2 separate regions of the Homo sapiens genome follow, and region 2 is linked to region 1. The links are contacts of gene promoters, found by promoter capture Hi-C in blood cells and fetal thymus (Javierre and others, 2016). All regions are on one chromosome and are shown on one strand. The core of a region is centred on a gene start or on the middle of the fragment in contact, and the rest is flanking DNA. Distances in the headings are between cores, read along the strand shown.

The links. Contacts are between HindIII fragments. The CHiCAGO score rates a contact against its expected background, and 5 or more counts as called.
Region 2: a fragment that was not itself captured here is called in contact with the fragment with the promoter of LINC02285 in region 1 in 1 of 17 cell types (endothelial precursors); the score reaches 5.5 in endothelial precursors.

Annotation. Positions count from the first base shown.
Region 1 is chr14:101,117,692-101,124,981 of GRCh38, forward strand. It overlaps LINC02285 (long intergenic non-protein coding RNA 2285), which reads left to right and starts at 3,165. Exons shown (of 2, transcript NR_146490.1): 1 at 3,165-3,453; 2 at 5,198-5,854. LOC124903386 (a long non-coding RNA gene) reads right to left here and starts at 3,605. Exons shown (of 2, transcript XR_007064341.1): 1 at 3,337-3,605; 2 at 2,823-3,073. The HindIII fragment of the contact is 1,856 bases long and covers 1,322-3,177 here.
Region 2 is chr14:100,903,976-100,910,289 of GRCh38, forward strand. It overlaps MEG8 (maternally expressed 8, small nucleolar RNA host gene), which reads left to right. Exons shown (of 51, transcript NR_146000.1): 6 at 2,123-2,188; 7 at 2,961-3,157; 8 at 6,258-6,314. Among named protein-coding and RNA genes, the nearest start is that of RTL1, 3.4 kb to the left of the region's middle. The HindIII fragment of the contact is 1,853 bases long and covers 1,990-3,842 here.

The DNA of each region.
Region 1 (7,290 bases), core at 1,915-4,414:
CCATCCATCCATCCATCCAACCATCCATCCATCCATCCATCCACTTTTCCACCCATCCATCCATTCATTCATCCACCCATCCATGCATCCATCCATCCATCCATCCATGCACCTATCCATCCATCTCTCCATGTGTCCATCCATCCACCCACCCATTCATTTGCTTCTTTCTCCCTCCATCATTCCATTCATCCATTTTCCTTCCATATATCTGTATATTCTCCCATCCTTCCATCCACTTTTCTATTCGTCCATCCATCCATCCATCCATCCATCCATCCATCCACCCATCCATCCATCTCTCCATGTGTCCATCCATCCACCCACCCATTCATCTGCTTCTTTCTCCCTCTGTCATTCCATTCATCCTTTTCTCCTTCCATATATCTATATATTCCTCCATCTGTCAATCCACTTTTCCATACATCCTTATGCCCATCCATCCATCCATTCATCTCCCCATTTATCCACCTCCCTCCATCTCTCCTTCCAGCACTCACAAACACTGCCTTCATGTTTGGCACAGGGAACCCAGACTTAGATCCATCCCCCACTGGAGCCTGGACAGCCATAGGACATAGGCCTCAACTAAATGTGAAACTTCAGAATGGGGAGTGGGTGTGGGGGAACCCACAGGGGTTCAGAGAGGAACTTTAGCACTAGCCAGGGAAGGGCTATGGTCCTAGAAGAGTTAACTCCACTCTTCTGGCAGCTACCCAAAGAGCTAGAGAATCTGAGCATGTCCCTCCTCCCCCATCCCTGGCCCACCTTGGCATCTTTCTGCTCTGCTGAGGCGAAAGCCGCCTTCACTCTGCAATTTAATCCCAGTTCCCATAGCTCTGCAAGTTTCCTAGACTCGAAGACAAAGATAAAAACATCATAATAACCACAGTGAGACAAAAAATAATAATCCCAGTGCTGAAAAAAATGAGATGCTGTCGCTTACATCTTGATAAACTGTAAAATTTATCTTTTTGTGCCGATCTTCCCTTCTCTATTTCATTTACAGTGGATTTTTAATAAAAAAAAGTTGATAAAAATCAAAGCAACATAATCAAAATAGAAAAGTTTGACATTTATAGATGTTGTTTATTACTATAGTGTTTTAAGGTATTAAAAAGGCACACCAAAATTAGTTTCTTATCAAATGTCAAATTTTCATCAAGTTCTCGCCTACAAACTATTTCAACTTTGTTCTTTGGAACAGAGTTGAGTGTCTCCATGAGCACGTGGGGGAGAGTCCCTGAGGACTTGCAGTGTTGTTTCTCCCCGCATCATCACTCCACTAAAAGAATTAACATGACGTGTTGTCTTCCTAATAAGCTTTAAGAAGGAGTTTGCTTTTCTTGTTCTTTTTCCCCTGCTTTAGAGGCAGATGTGTTGCTGTTTGTGTATCTTATACACTAGAAGGAAACTGCAATGGTGGAAAGGTCTCCTGACCTTGGCCCAGTCCAGAACTGTCCCAAATGACCCCATCTTGACTCCGAACGAGCCCATCCCTTCCGCATGTACAGCTGTGCAAAGAAAGACGCTGTCTCCGTGGAGCCAACAGCAGCCCTGGGCGGTACCAGGGGCAGGGTCTCAGGTTGGAGTTTAATTGCTTGGAACAGAGATCAGCTTTAATCAGCTTGAGCAAGGAGGGAGGAGGCCCTAGACAAAGACCAGGCCCGGGGGGCACAGTGAACATGGGGTGTCTGGGAGCCAAGAGCGAGCCCCAGGAGCGTGAAGACAGTCGGGCGTGGCCAGGATGTGACGGGGCTGGGCTTTCCCTTCTTAGAGATGAGGGCTGGATCGCCGGGAGGGGCCAGCTCCAAGGCAGGAGGCCAGGGCTGCCATCCTTCTCGAACATATCCATGGACACCATGAAGGTGTGGTCAGGGGCAGAGCTGGGCAGTCGGAGGAGCTAGGGTTTGCATCCATCGTGTACCACTCCACGTGTGTCCTGACCAGATCACTTTCCCGGCTGAGTCTTAGTTTCCCAATTACCTGAACTCCCTCGGCCTCAGTTTTCTCATCTGTCAAATGAACAGAATGATTCTTTTGCCTGAAAGGGGAGCAAGCACTGGGTATTCATTCTTCCTGCACCTCGGATCTCCTCTAGTTTGGGGATCTGCGAGCCCGTGGTTGAGCGGGATATGAACTCAGGCTCCTGCCCCCAAAGGAGTCTTTCTCCTCCTCCCCCCACCTCCTGCTTTCCTGTCCTGCTCGGCAGGCAGCCTCGGGTTGCAGAGGTGAGTCCTGCTTTTCTCCCTCCCACACCGTGCTTTCCCTTAACTCCCCAGCCCCAGGGAGAGGCAGCATTCTACATTTCAGAACCTTCTGAAGGGGGTTGTGTCCTTCTTCCAGAGCTAACTCTCTTGAGAGTGCTCTGAGCTGGACAGCTGGTGGGTGGAAGACAGGCAAGACAGCGATGCCAAGAGACACAGCATTTCCAGATGATTAGAGGAAAAGAAGCAAAGGATGTTGCTCGTCTCAGAAAAATCAGTGCAAACAGCCGTCAGGGAAATAGCTTCCCATGAAAGTCCCACGAATGAAAAACAAGAGGAACGAGGCGTCCACTGATCCCAGAACAGACAGGAGGAGCATGGCAGAGACAATTAGGATCTATTAGCCCTGCCCCTCTTCTAAACAGCCACCGGGGGACAGCCTGTGCTGGGCCCAAGAACACAGCGATGGCCAGACGGGCCCTGACCCTGCGTGACCATCCCGTGCGGCTCAGGGAGACAGTACTCAAAGCTCAGGGGACCGGCAGGTGCGTGACATCCAGGAGGGAAAGCCATGCACTGCGGAGGTTTAAAGAAGGCGGGAATAAACTCTGCGACTTTTGGTTTAGAAAACACACTGTATTCAGAGGCAGCCAGAGATGATTTATAACATGCCATATTAGGGAACTTATAATAGCATCTAACAAGCAAAACCTCCGCATTTCAGTGGCTTCATGTAACACCGTTAATTCTTGCTTCCTGAACAGCTCCATGTGGTGCTTCTGGTGGGCAGGTGGCCCTCTTCCTGGCTGACTCAGGGACCCCTGTGGCTCTGCTGTTCAGGGAGAGTCAGAGCCCTCTGTGTGCAGCTGGCAAAGAAGGAAAGTGGCCAGGGGGATGGCCCAGCCCTATCTCAGAAACCTCAGCCCGGAAGTGGCCCACTTCCCTTCCACTCACAGTCTTTTTGAGAAGAAGCTTGTGCCTGTGCCTGGAAGCAAGGAGGGCTGGAACTGGGGCCCTGCTGGGAAGCCCTGTATCTGCAGAACTGTGTCCCGTGGGGGCCAGGGGACACAGATTTTTGCAGCCCTCTGATGCTGAAGCCTTTCTGGGGCTGGGATGACCCAATGCCCACCTGGACCGTGCACTTCCTGGTGACCCTCTGAGACAACTTCCTGGGCAGAGTTGATCATCATGGAGTCAGTGCAAGTCTGGGAACAGTGGCCTGAAACTGCGCAGCTCCAGTGTGTCGGTGAGCGCCGTCCTCCCAGGGCTCAGGGGAGGGCAGATGAGAAACCAGAAGATCCGCAGAGCAGGAGGCTCCACCGGAGGCCCGAGCCAGGGCCACCCAGAGGAACGGGCCCTGGCTGGGGACAGAAGCCTGCTGGTGTGCTCACTGCGTTTCCTTCCCCTTTGTCCCCCAGCTTTTAAACGGGTTTGAGGAAGTCTCAGGGCTACGTCAGCTGTGCTAGGGGAGCCAACGAGGGCAACTGGGCTGAAGCGAGCAGTGAATCCGAGAGGAAGTTCAGGACAAGGGGCCCTCCGTGTGGCTGAACAGGGATCCCTCCCTGGCTGCCCTTCAGTTGGGCCCTTCTCTCTGAGCTCTTCTCCACGAGACTCCACCACGGCCTGCTGAACTCAATTTTAGCAGAGAATCCTAAGTGAGCTGATTGAGAATCCCCTCCCCTTGACAAATGATTGAATTCCACGTCATCATTTTCCATCCACAGCCCCTCCCTTTGCCCATGGGCTGTCAATCCCCAGGTGTCCCCACTGTGTTCAGAACTGAGTCCATCTCTGTCCCTGCTGTAATACTCTTGAGTCAAGTCTTCCTCACCATTTGTAGCTGGTCCGGGGCACCCCACCGAGAGTAGGAGACAATTCTTCCCATCTAGAACATTCCTTCCAGGCTCAGGACCACTCTTGCCTGCTGGGGGATAGGGGCTGCCAAGAGGGGCTTTTCCAACATGGGCAGTGGTATGGGAGCTTGGGCCGACCGTGGCGGACTGGAGGGCAGGCATTTTGGGTGGGAACGGTGCTCACCTAAGGCTCCTTCTGCCAAGCCCCTTCTGGCCTCTGCCAGGACGGGATGTGACAGAGTGCATCTGTGCCCGGCTGCTCAGGGCAGAGTGGGGCAGGGCAGCGTCCCTGGGGAGCAGAACCCCAGGCCTCCGCATGAGAGTGCTTCAGGGGCACCCGGGCACCCTTCTTTGAAGGTTCTTTCTGTTTTTAAGCCTCTTTTAAGCTGCCCAAGTGCCAGCTGAGGCTATTTTGGGATCAGCCATTCATCCCAGGGCTGTCTGGCCCTTCTGAAAACTCTCATTAAATTGTTCATCGACAGGAACCAAATACTTGGCCCCAGGGCCTCCAGGCCTCCCCCGATGTGTGGCCTCCTGGGGTCCTTGCCCGAGAGGCTGAGGGGGAACCTGGCTGGCCACCAAGGCCTTGTAAGTATCTTCTCCCTCAGAAATCCAAGTCTGTCTTCCAAAACACCCCCACCCCCGCCACTGAGTTCATGAATATTCCCTCTGTGGACACACAATTCGAACTTGCGCGCACACGGCCCACCCACCACCTGAGGGAGGGACGGCTTCCAGTAAGTAATTACTCAACACAGCGATCCCAGGACACGACCTCGGAATGGGAGAGCGGAGGCCTTTGTTGGTTCAGAGCGAAGTGGGGTGTTCCCAGGACTGGAGAACTCAGGTGGCCCCTCTAGCAGCTCTGCCTCCTTGGGATCCCATGAGCTCGGCCTCTCAAGCACAAGTGTTATCCAGAAATCTCTGGAATAGGATGAGAGATGATGAGAGGTCATTCCAGGGCTTTCCTCCCCGAGACCCTGGAAGGGCCCAAGGGAGCCTGCGGTGGGACTGGGCCCTAGATAGATCAAGGCCAGCACTGGGACGGGGTGGGCCTGTCCTCAGGAGGCCTCCAGGGCTGCTCACCTGTCAGCACCCCTGGCCTCTCTCTGAAGCTCTCATGCCCTGATCTTCCAGGTGGAGGCCCTTCAGTGAGGAGTCCCCCAGTCTGGGTGGAGAGCCAGCCCGATCGGCTTGATTCCTCCACTCTTGACACCGTGAGCCTCAGATTCTGAGAGCTTGGGAGGATGGACAGAGACTGCGGTCAGCAGGAGAATGGGAAGCAGATGGGAGAGGAAGAAGCTTGCCTTTGGTGGGGACCAGGAGGCTGGGAGCCCAGGCCCATTCACTGTAACATGTGCAGTAAATCCCATTATATTCATGCAAAGAATTCTACACAGCAAGGAAAAGGAAAGAGCTGTTGGCATGCCACAACACAGGTGGATCTCACAGACCTACTGCTGAGCTAAAGAAGGCAACCACGCACATGTACATGCTGCATGGGGCCGTTTCTATCTGCCCAGAACCAGGCAAGAACCATCTATGCCAACAGCTTCATTGCTGCTGTTTCTGGGGTTGTTGACTGGAGGGGCGAGGGGACCCTCTCGGATGTGGAAATGTTCTGTGATGAGATAGAGGTTTCCTGCATGTCTGTGCCTGTGAGATGCATCCAGCTGCACACTTCAGATGCGTGCATTTTATTGCATATGTTATGCCTTGATTTTTAAAAGTCTTTAAATATTTAATCCTGAACATCCCTACGAAACAAATAATAAAACAGCCCTAGGCTCCTGATGTCTTGCCCAGGTCACCTACCACCCTCAGGCCTCTCTAGGAGTCAACATCTGGATGCTGATGCCTGCTTCCCCCTCCATACCTCACAGCCATCACCCAAGAGGGGGCTGTAAGACGTCTCTCTGGCCGGCACTGGAGCCAGCTTTGAGCTGCCCGAGCCTGCTTCCTACGCAGGGTGCTTTAAATCTTCCGGATCACTGAGCCTTCATTTCAGAATGCTTTATTGCTCATCTTCCTACCACGCAGGGCTGCTGCCTGTGTCAGCTCGCACCGAGGGAGGAAAATAATTATACCCCACAGCGTCAGTTACATCGAAGGGTAGAGAGGCACCAGGCGCCTTCCCCTTCAGGATGCGCAGAGCCAAGGGGGTTTCCAATCCTGCTCCTTGCTGACCAGGGCCTCTGCATCATGACACTGACCGTCCCACACATCTGGCTGCCGCCTCCTCGCTATTACCTCATGTCTTCCTCTGCAGGCTCCCAGACTGGGGTCCTAAGATCTGGAGATGCTGCCTGCAGGTCAGGATCCAAGGGGAGTTTGGATATGACTGTGGCCCAGACAGAGCTCAGAGTCTACAAAAGCCCCACAGAGCCCACCTGTGACTTGTGACTAGGCAATGAGGTTATGCCGGCCTCACGTCCTCTGAATGCTATTGTGCCTGAGCCCCTGGGCTGCCTCCTATCCTCCTGCTCTGGACTTTGCCTCCCGATGCCCTGCCCTAGATGTTTCTGTTGGGGGACTCCAGAGGGCTGGTGAGAACTGGGGGGTCCCTGTAGGGTGGAGAGGGTCAGAAGTCACCTATCAGTGTGGCAGACATGGCTGGTCCCAGAGCCCGGGGCTCCTGCTCTAATGGGAGGACCCCAGTGAAAGCACCCACCTGCTTCTGGCAGGGTAGCTTAACCCCCATTCCAATAGAACCTCTAGAGAATCTAATAGCCCCATCCCTATGGGCCTCTGCACAGCTCCCAATCCAGCCCCAGTCCCCTTTATGTCCCCACCACAGCCTCGTCCTGGATGACAGACGGTGGGAAGGGTTGTTACTGTCAGGACAGATGCAGTCACCATTTTCTGCAGCAAGGATCCTTAGTCATAAGTAATATTGTGCGTGGGACACCAACAGCCCAGCCCAAGAAGCATTGGTCAAACTGGGCCCAGGGAAAACCTTCCAGGATGAGCTGAAGAGAAGGTCAGCCTGCTCATCTGGATGGACATGCTGCAGCCTCAGCCCCTGGCCACCTGGGGAAGTCATGGGACTGACACCCCCCTTCCCAGCACACACAGACACACCCGCAGGCACGCACGCAGGCAACACACACTTACACACTCACACATGCTCGTATACATACATTCACAGACAGAAACACACACCCTTACATACAGGCACTCAGACACACACTCAGAGCCATGCACACATGCACTCATATGGGTACAAGTAC
Region 2 (6,314 bases), core at 1,666-4,165, 210 kb before region 1:
ATCCAGGGGCCCTCCAGGGCTTCCGGACGGGGAGAACCAGATCTGGAGGGGCTGGACAAGTGGGAGGGGGAAGAGGGGTACGTCTTAAGGGTGCCCCGGCACCTCAGGGAAATGCCCCAGGCTGGACTTGGAGGAGGATCTCCAGCCTTGACTCTGACACAGACAGGGACTATGGCCCTCCCCGCACCTCGGTTTCCCATCTGTGAGATAAGAGATGGAAACCAAACGTCATTTCGAGAAAAGCCCCCATTCCCACCACCCTCCTGGCCCCCCCCTTCCCCCACCACCCCAATCACGTTTGCCAGACACCTGTCTGCTTGTCAGAGCAATATTCAACAGGAGAGTTCCTTCGCTTCCTCCCTGGAGGGAGAAGGGAGAGGTGTGGACGGGGAGAGGGGAGGGGAGAGGTGCCCCCCACTCAGAGAGGCCGCTGAGCAGAGTTCTGCATCGGGTAGGAGTTGGGCCACCGAAGATTTGTGCCAACTCACGGTGCGGTGGAATCAGACAGTCTGAATTCTTCAGACACCAGCCAAGAGTCTGTGGCGCCCCCACGTGCCACAAGGGGGCTGCCTGGGCCACATTTCTGAGCCCGAAAAGTGAGGAGGGGGACAGTCAAGAGGGACCGGCGCTTTTGCTCTGGCAGCGGCGCTTTTAACTGCGACAGATGCGTGCGGTGCGGCGGGGGAGCCGGCCGTGCCGGGGCTGGGGGCTGCTGGGCGGGGGTGGTCGGGGCGGGGGGCGGGGGCTGCAGGTTGCGCCCCTCCCTCACAGACGGCTGCGCTGCAATGCAGCAGGCTGCGGGAGCTGTCCCGGGAGCTGTCCTGTCCGGTGGCCGGCTTTCCAAAGTGGGGAACGAGAGATGAGGGAGGGAGCACTTCCAGGCGCTGCGTGGTGGCCAGGCGCCCAGGAAGCCGAGGGGCCCGAGACTCTGCAGCGGGGCCAGAAAGAGAAGAGTGGGGGAGGAGGCCGGGAGTGGTGCATGGACCAGGGGGTAGAGGGAGGTGGGTGTGGACCTGGGGTCGGGCGCCAGTCAGCTTGCAGCCTATGAAGGACGGAAAGGAGGGCTACAGAGATAGGGGAAGAGTGGGGCTGAGGATAGCCAGAGCGGCTTGGCACACAGTTTTAGGGTAAAAGCATCAACTCTTATCTTTCCAAAAGAAATAAAAAAGCCAAAAAAAAAAAAAAAGGCATTTGAAAGCTAGACAGCTGAATCCTTCCCAGCATGACTGAGCCGGTCACTCCAGGGTCTTCCTTCAAAGCGTGTCTAATGGGAGACAGCGTTGTCCCAGTAACCAAATTGGGACCAGAGTCCCAGGGAAGGGCTCATCAGGTGGCCGCTCTGCCTTGAAGAGTGGTACCCTCAGGCCCTTTTCCAGCCAGGGGTCAGGGAGAGAGCTGGAGGGCTCGGGGAGGCAGGGACTGGGAGGGAGAGTGGGGAGAGGAGCGCTGGGGGCTGCAGGAGGGTCTCTGGGCAGCTGGCGGGTGTCTCGTTCCGCAACACTCTGCACCCTGGTACATCGTCCTCCGTCCACTCAACGTGGAATGATTCTCTTCCCTCTGGATCCAGCCCCTCTAGTTCCCTTTTCACTTTGAGGCATTTGCCCCCTGTGAATCAGTTCCCTGCTACTCCAGAAAATTTCTCTCATACCCCAGGCCCCTCTGTTCTTTTAAATGGCACCCTTCACCCCCAGCCCTTCATCTTCTGCACTGTATTTTCACTTGTTGATTTAAAAATCCCTTTATTATGGGAAATTGCAAACAACACAAAAGTAGAGAAAATAGTACGTATTTTTACTGTTTACTCAATTTTCATCTTGCCATTACCCGGACACGGTTGCCGTCAAACCCTGGCCCCTCTTGTTTCATCTAAACCCTAAACTGTCCCTCTACTCCCACTGCCCAACCCCTACCCCTGGACTATTTCGAAGCAAATTTCAGACACCATCCTGTTTCCTCTGAGCATTTTTTAGTTTGTATCTCTAAATAAGAAGCTTTTGTTTCTTAAAAATAAAACCACAACACCATTATCACAAGTTAAAAAATTAATAGCCTTTCCTTAATATCATCCACCATCTATGTAGCATTCCAATATTCTTGATTGACTCATAAATTTCTTTTACAGTTGGCTTGGTCAAGTCAGTGTTCAAACTATCTCCTGCTCTTTCAAGGGGATCTGGGGCTCTAGAAGGTAAGTATGGCTACACATTTAGGGGTTGAATATCTGCCTGGACCTTAAATGAGAAACTCAACCTCAGCAAACCTCAGTGTTCTCACTGAAAATGGGGCAAGTTCTGGGTCTCTCCTTGGGTCATTGAGAGGGTTAGAGCATTAACCCCTGAAGCCCCAGCCGCATGTCTAATATGTCAGAGACACTCAGCAAACAGTAGCTGCGAGAATGATTCTTTTTCCCAGAAACGTTTAAAGGGGATTTGGGCAGGGGCAGGCAAAACATAGCTGGCTATTGTCCATAAAACAAAAGGCTCCTGGCAGTCCAGGTCCCCTGAGTGGTTAAAACAGCACATGCACTACATCCCAAAAAGGGCAGCCTACAGTCTGGGGGCTGGGTTCGCCTGGACCTCCTGGCTTGCCGTTTAGCTGCCTGACCTCAGCTGTTGTGACCTGGGACCAACAGGGGACCCCGGCAGGTGCCTATCCACTAGATGGCACTCTCTACTGTGAGTCCAGGGGGGACCACCACCCCAAACTGCTTTGGCCACTGCCCAGCCCTGGGTGCCACCGGAAGATGCACACCACTAAAACATCGCAGATAATTTCTAAAAAGCACTTCTCAACATGTCATGCAAAAGATGCGGTGGTTTATTTCCTTGCATAAATCCCAACCAGATTGCAGAAGCAGAGGGAATGAACATTTAATGACTTTGCTGAGGCCAGACACTGGTATGTCTACGCTCTCTTTAAATCCTCATCCCAGCGACATCTGATTTCCCTTCATTTTACAGATTAGAGGACTTGGAGAGGTTAGTGACTTGCTCGAGGTCGGCTAGGAAGCAAGACCCAGGATTCCAACTCAGGTCTGTGTGATTCCTCTGCAAAATGGAGAGGTGGAAGGATGGATGTCAGGTCTGATGGATGGATGGATGCCTACATCAAGATACATGCATAGATGGAGAGATGGCTGGCTACCTCATGAATGCTGGTAAGATGGATGAGTGAATTGAAGCACAGGTGGTGGAAGGAGAGAGGAATGAGAGAGGATAGTCAATTTCCCACCAAGATCAAAGGCTTACTTGATCTTTGAAGAGAGGTTCCCTCTGAATGGAGCTTGCTGGTGAAGCTCCTGCCTTCTGTTCTGCTTCTGAGCGCACTGACTGGCTCAGGTGGCTCTGGGACAACAGGTGGGATGCCAGCTTACAGGGACCAAGTCCCAGCTGTGGTGCTGGAGCTGCTCAGTGGCAACTCTCCGTCTCTGCTGCTTTCACGCAGCACTGACGAAGAGCAGGCATCCGCCTTTCCACTGGCTCTCCTGGATGACTAAGCCCTAAGCCCCAACCGCATACTCAGCCCTTCACTGGCACTTGGCATAATTTTATCTCCTCTAAATCATCACAGCCACCCTCCATGATAGCAATTTCTATTCTCAATTAAGTGAAAAGGAAACCGAAGTTTAGGAGTGGTAAGTGACTTACCCAAAATCGTATAAGGAGGAAATGCAGACCCAGGATTTGAACTCGAGTCTTCTTTCCTTCCAAACTCATCCCCTCAACCTGTTTATTTCCTTTTCTCTATGACCATGTCTGAAGAAATCTGCCTTGGGGTTGTCTCATATTGGACTCACTCTCTTGGTCTGTCAGTGAGCTGAACTTCTCATCCAATCAAATCCAAGCTTATTTCCCAAGTAATATCTCTAGTGTATTCTATTTGTAATGATCACACAGGCAAGGGCCACACATATCACTGGCATCCTACAGTACAATTAATCAAGTCAAATTAGATTCCTGGCATCTCATATTCTGACTGAATGCTAATGGTAGTAGATGTAAAAATGACTCCAGTGCAAGGCAAGGAGGGAGGGGACTGGATGTAGGGCTGAATGGCGAATCAGTAAGCCTTGCTGCAGACCTGGGTTAACATTAGCAGATAGGTTTTGAGAACCTGCTCATGGGCTAGGCCCTACTTCACACATTCTAGGTGCTAAGGTTTCAATCTCAGCTTTGCCATTGACTACTTTTGTGAGTTTGGACAAGGTATTTAATTTCTGTGCCGCGTTTTCTTCAGTTGTACCAACAGTACCTTACTAATACCGATAGTACCTTACTAATGAGTACTTGAGGATTAAATGAGGCAAACATATAAATTCCTTAAAAGAGAGCATTCCAGGCTGGGCATGGTGGCTTATGCCTGTAATCCCAGCACTTTGGGAGGCTGAGGTGGGAGGATCCCTTGAGCCCAGGAGTTCGAGACCAGCCTGAGAAACATAGGGAGACCCCAATCTCTACAAAATATTTAAAAATTATCTGGGTGTAGTGGTGCACATCTGTGGTCCTAGTTACCTGGGAGACTGAGATGGGAAGATTGCTTGGGCCTGGGAGGTCAAGGCTGCAGTGAGCCATGGTTGTGCCACTGCACTTTAGCCTGGATGACAGAGGGAAACCCGGTCTCCAAAGAAAAAAAAACAAAAACAAAAAAGAATGCTTTCCAGATGTTGAGCATTCAATAAATATTTACTTACAGTGAAAATTACAGTTGTTATAAGTATTGTTATTGAGGTGTCATTTGATATCATTGGCAGGTAAGAATCATTATCCACATTTTACCAGTAACTGAACAGGTGCTCAGAGAGGCCTGTGTGCTTGTCTTTGGAGAATGCATCAGTGAAATAGAAACAGAAATACTAATTTAAAACTAGAAGTTCTAGTGATAGAAGTAAGAGTTCTACACAGCAAATGGGCATGATCCATCTAAAGAAAGATGAAACCCTAAGAGAGGTGAGACTCCTGTGAAGGAATTTCCTTGCAGTATAGGGGCTTACACAGGGGTTGCATGGTTGCTGGGAAGAAGCTGAGTAGGTCAAAGGCAAGATAAATAATTACAGTCCTCTGAATCCAAGTTTCTGAGGTTGAAATTCATTAAACTTCATGGTTTCTAGCAGTAGTGGGCAAGGTTCCCCAGTTCTCAGATATGATTTCATTAAACTTCTTTCCCTTCCTATTTTTTGGGGGAGAAACAGTCACTTGAGAAATGTTTCTTGACTTGCTCTTTTGGAGGTGGCCAGTTGGAAAAATTCTGAGTCTCTTACCATGAGGGGCATGAGGACTGGGAAGCCTCCTCCTTTTCCTGGGGCAGCACATCTGTAACTGGAGCCTAGGTGGCATGTGGCTGCACATCACATGGGGTGCCTCTGGCGGGGTGCAATCGGATGCCCTAACAGCCAGGCGGGAGGAGATGGGTTTAGCATTGGTGCTGACTTGCTGGGCTGTGTTGAGGATAAGCTGTGATCCCAGCATTGCCTGACTTCAGATTCTGTGCCAGTCCTGTAAGAACTGTTGCCCCTGCATCTCCTCCAAGATGGACAGTCTATTTATTCATCCAGGTCCAATGGTACATCCTGGGGATTCCCTCTGCTTCTGGGGCTGCCTGTGTGGGAGGTCAGAAAAACCTTCGCACCTCCCCCCCAGCCCCCGCCACGTGATTTATTCTCACACTCACATTGCGGGCTGGCAGTGGGACATTGCTGCCAAAACGAGGCTTCCGGAAGAAGTGGTAAGGCCGACTCTGGAGCGACACTGCCCGGGTTTGCCTCCTGGCTCAGCATTTCCTTGCTGTGTGACCACTTATAAGTCACTTAACTTCCCTGAGTCTCAGTTTCCTTAGGTATAAAATAGGACTAGTAATGCTTTGCTCAAATATCATCATCTCCGTGAGGCCTCCTCCCTGGTGTCACTCCCTACCCCCTTCCTGCTTTATTTTCCTCCCTAGTTCTTACCACCATCTTTTATCCCATGCATTAGGCTTACCTTTTCTGATGATTTTCTGTTCCTATCTCCACCCACAGGGATGTTAATTCTCATGGAACCGGGATCTGTCCGTTTTGCTCACTACTGTATCCCTGGCACTTAGACCCAGCAACAATACAAAGTGCATGCTCAGAAATTTTGGGGAAAAATTTATGAGATACTATTGAATTGTATCCACCCCAGAGGAGTGTCAATGTATGCAAAGTAGGCAGTGTGGTGCTTGGTACAGAGTATGCATTCAATAAATATTGGCTAATTATGATTATTATGTCTAATTCACAGGACTGTTGTGAGAATCAAACGAGATAATGTATGCTGAGGCATGCTGTGAACACTACG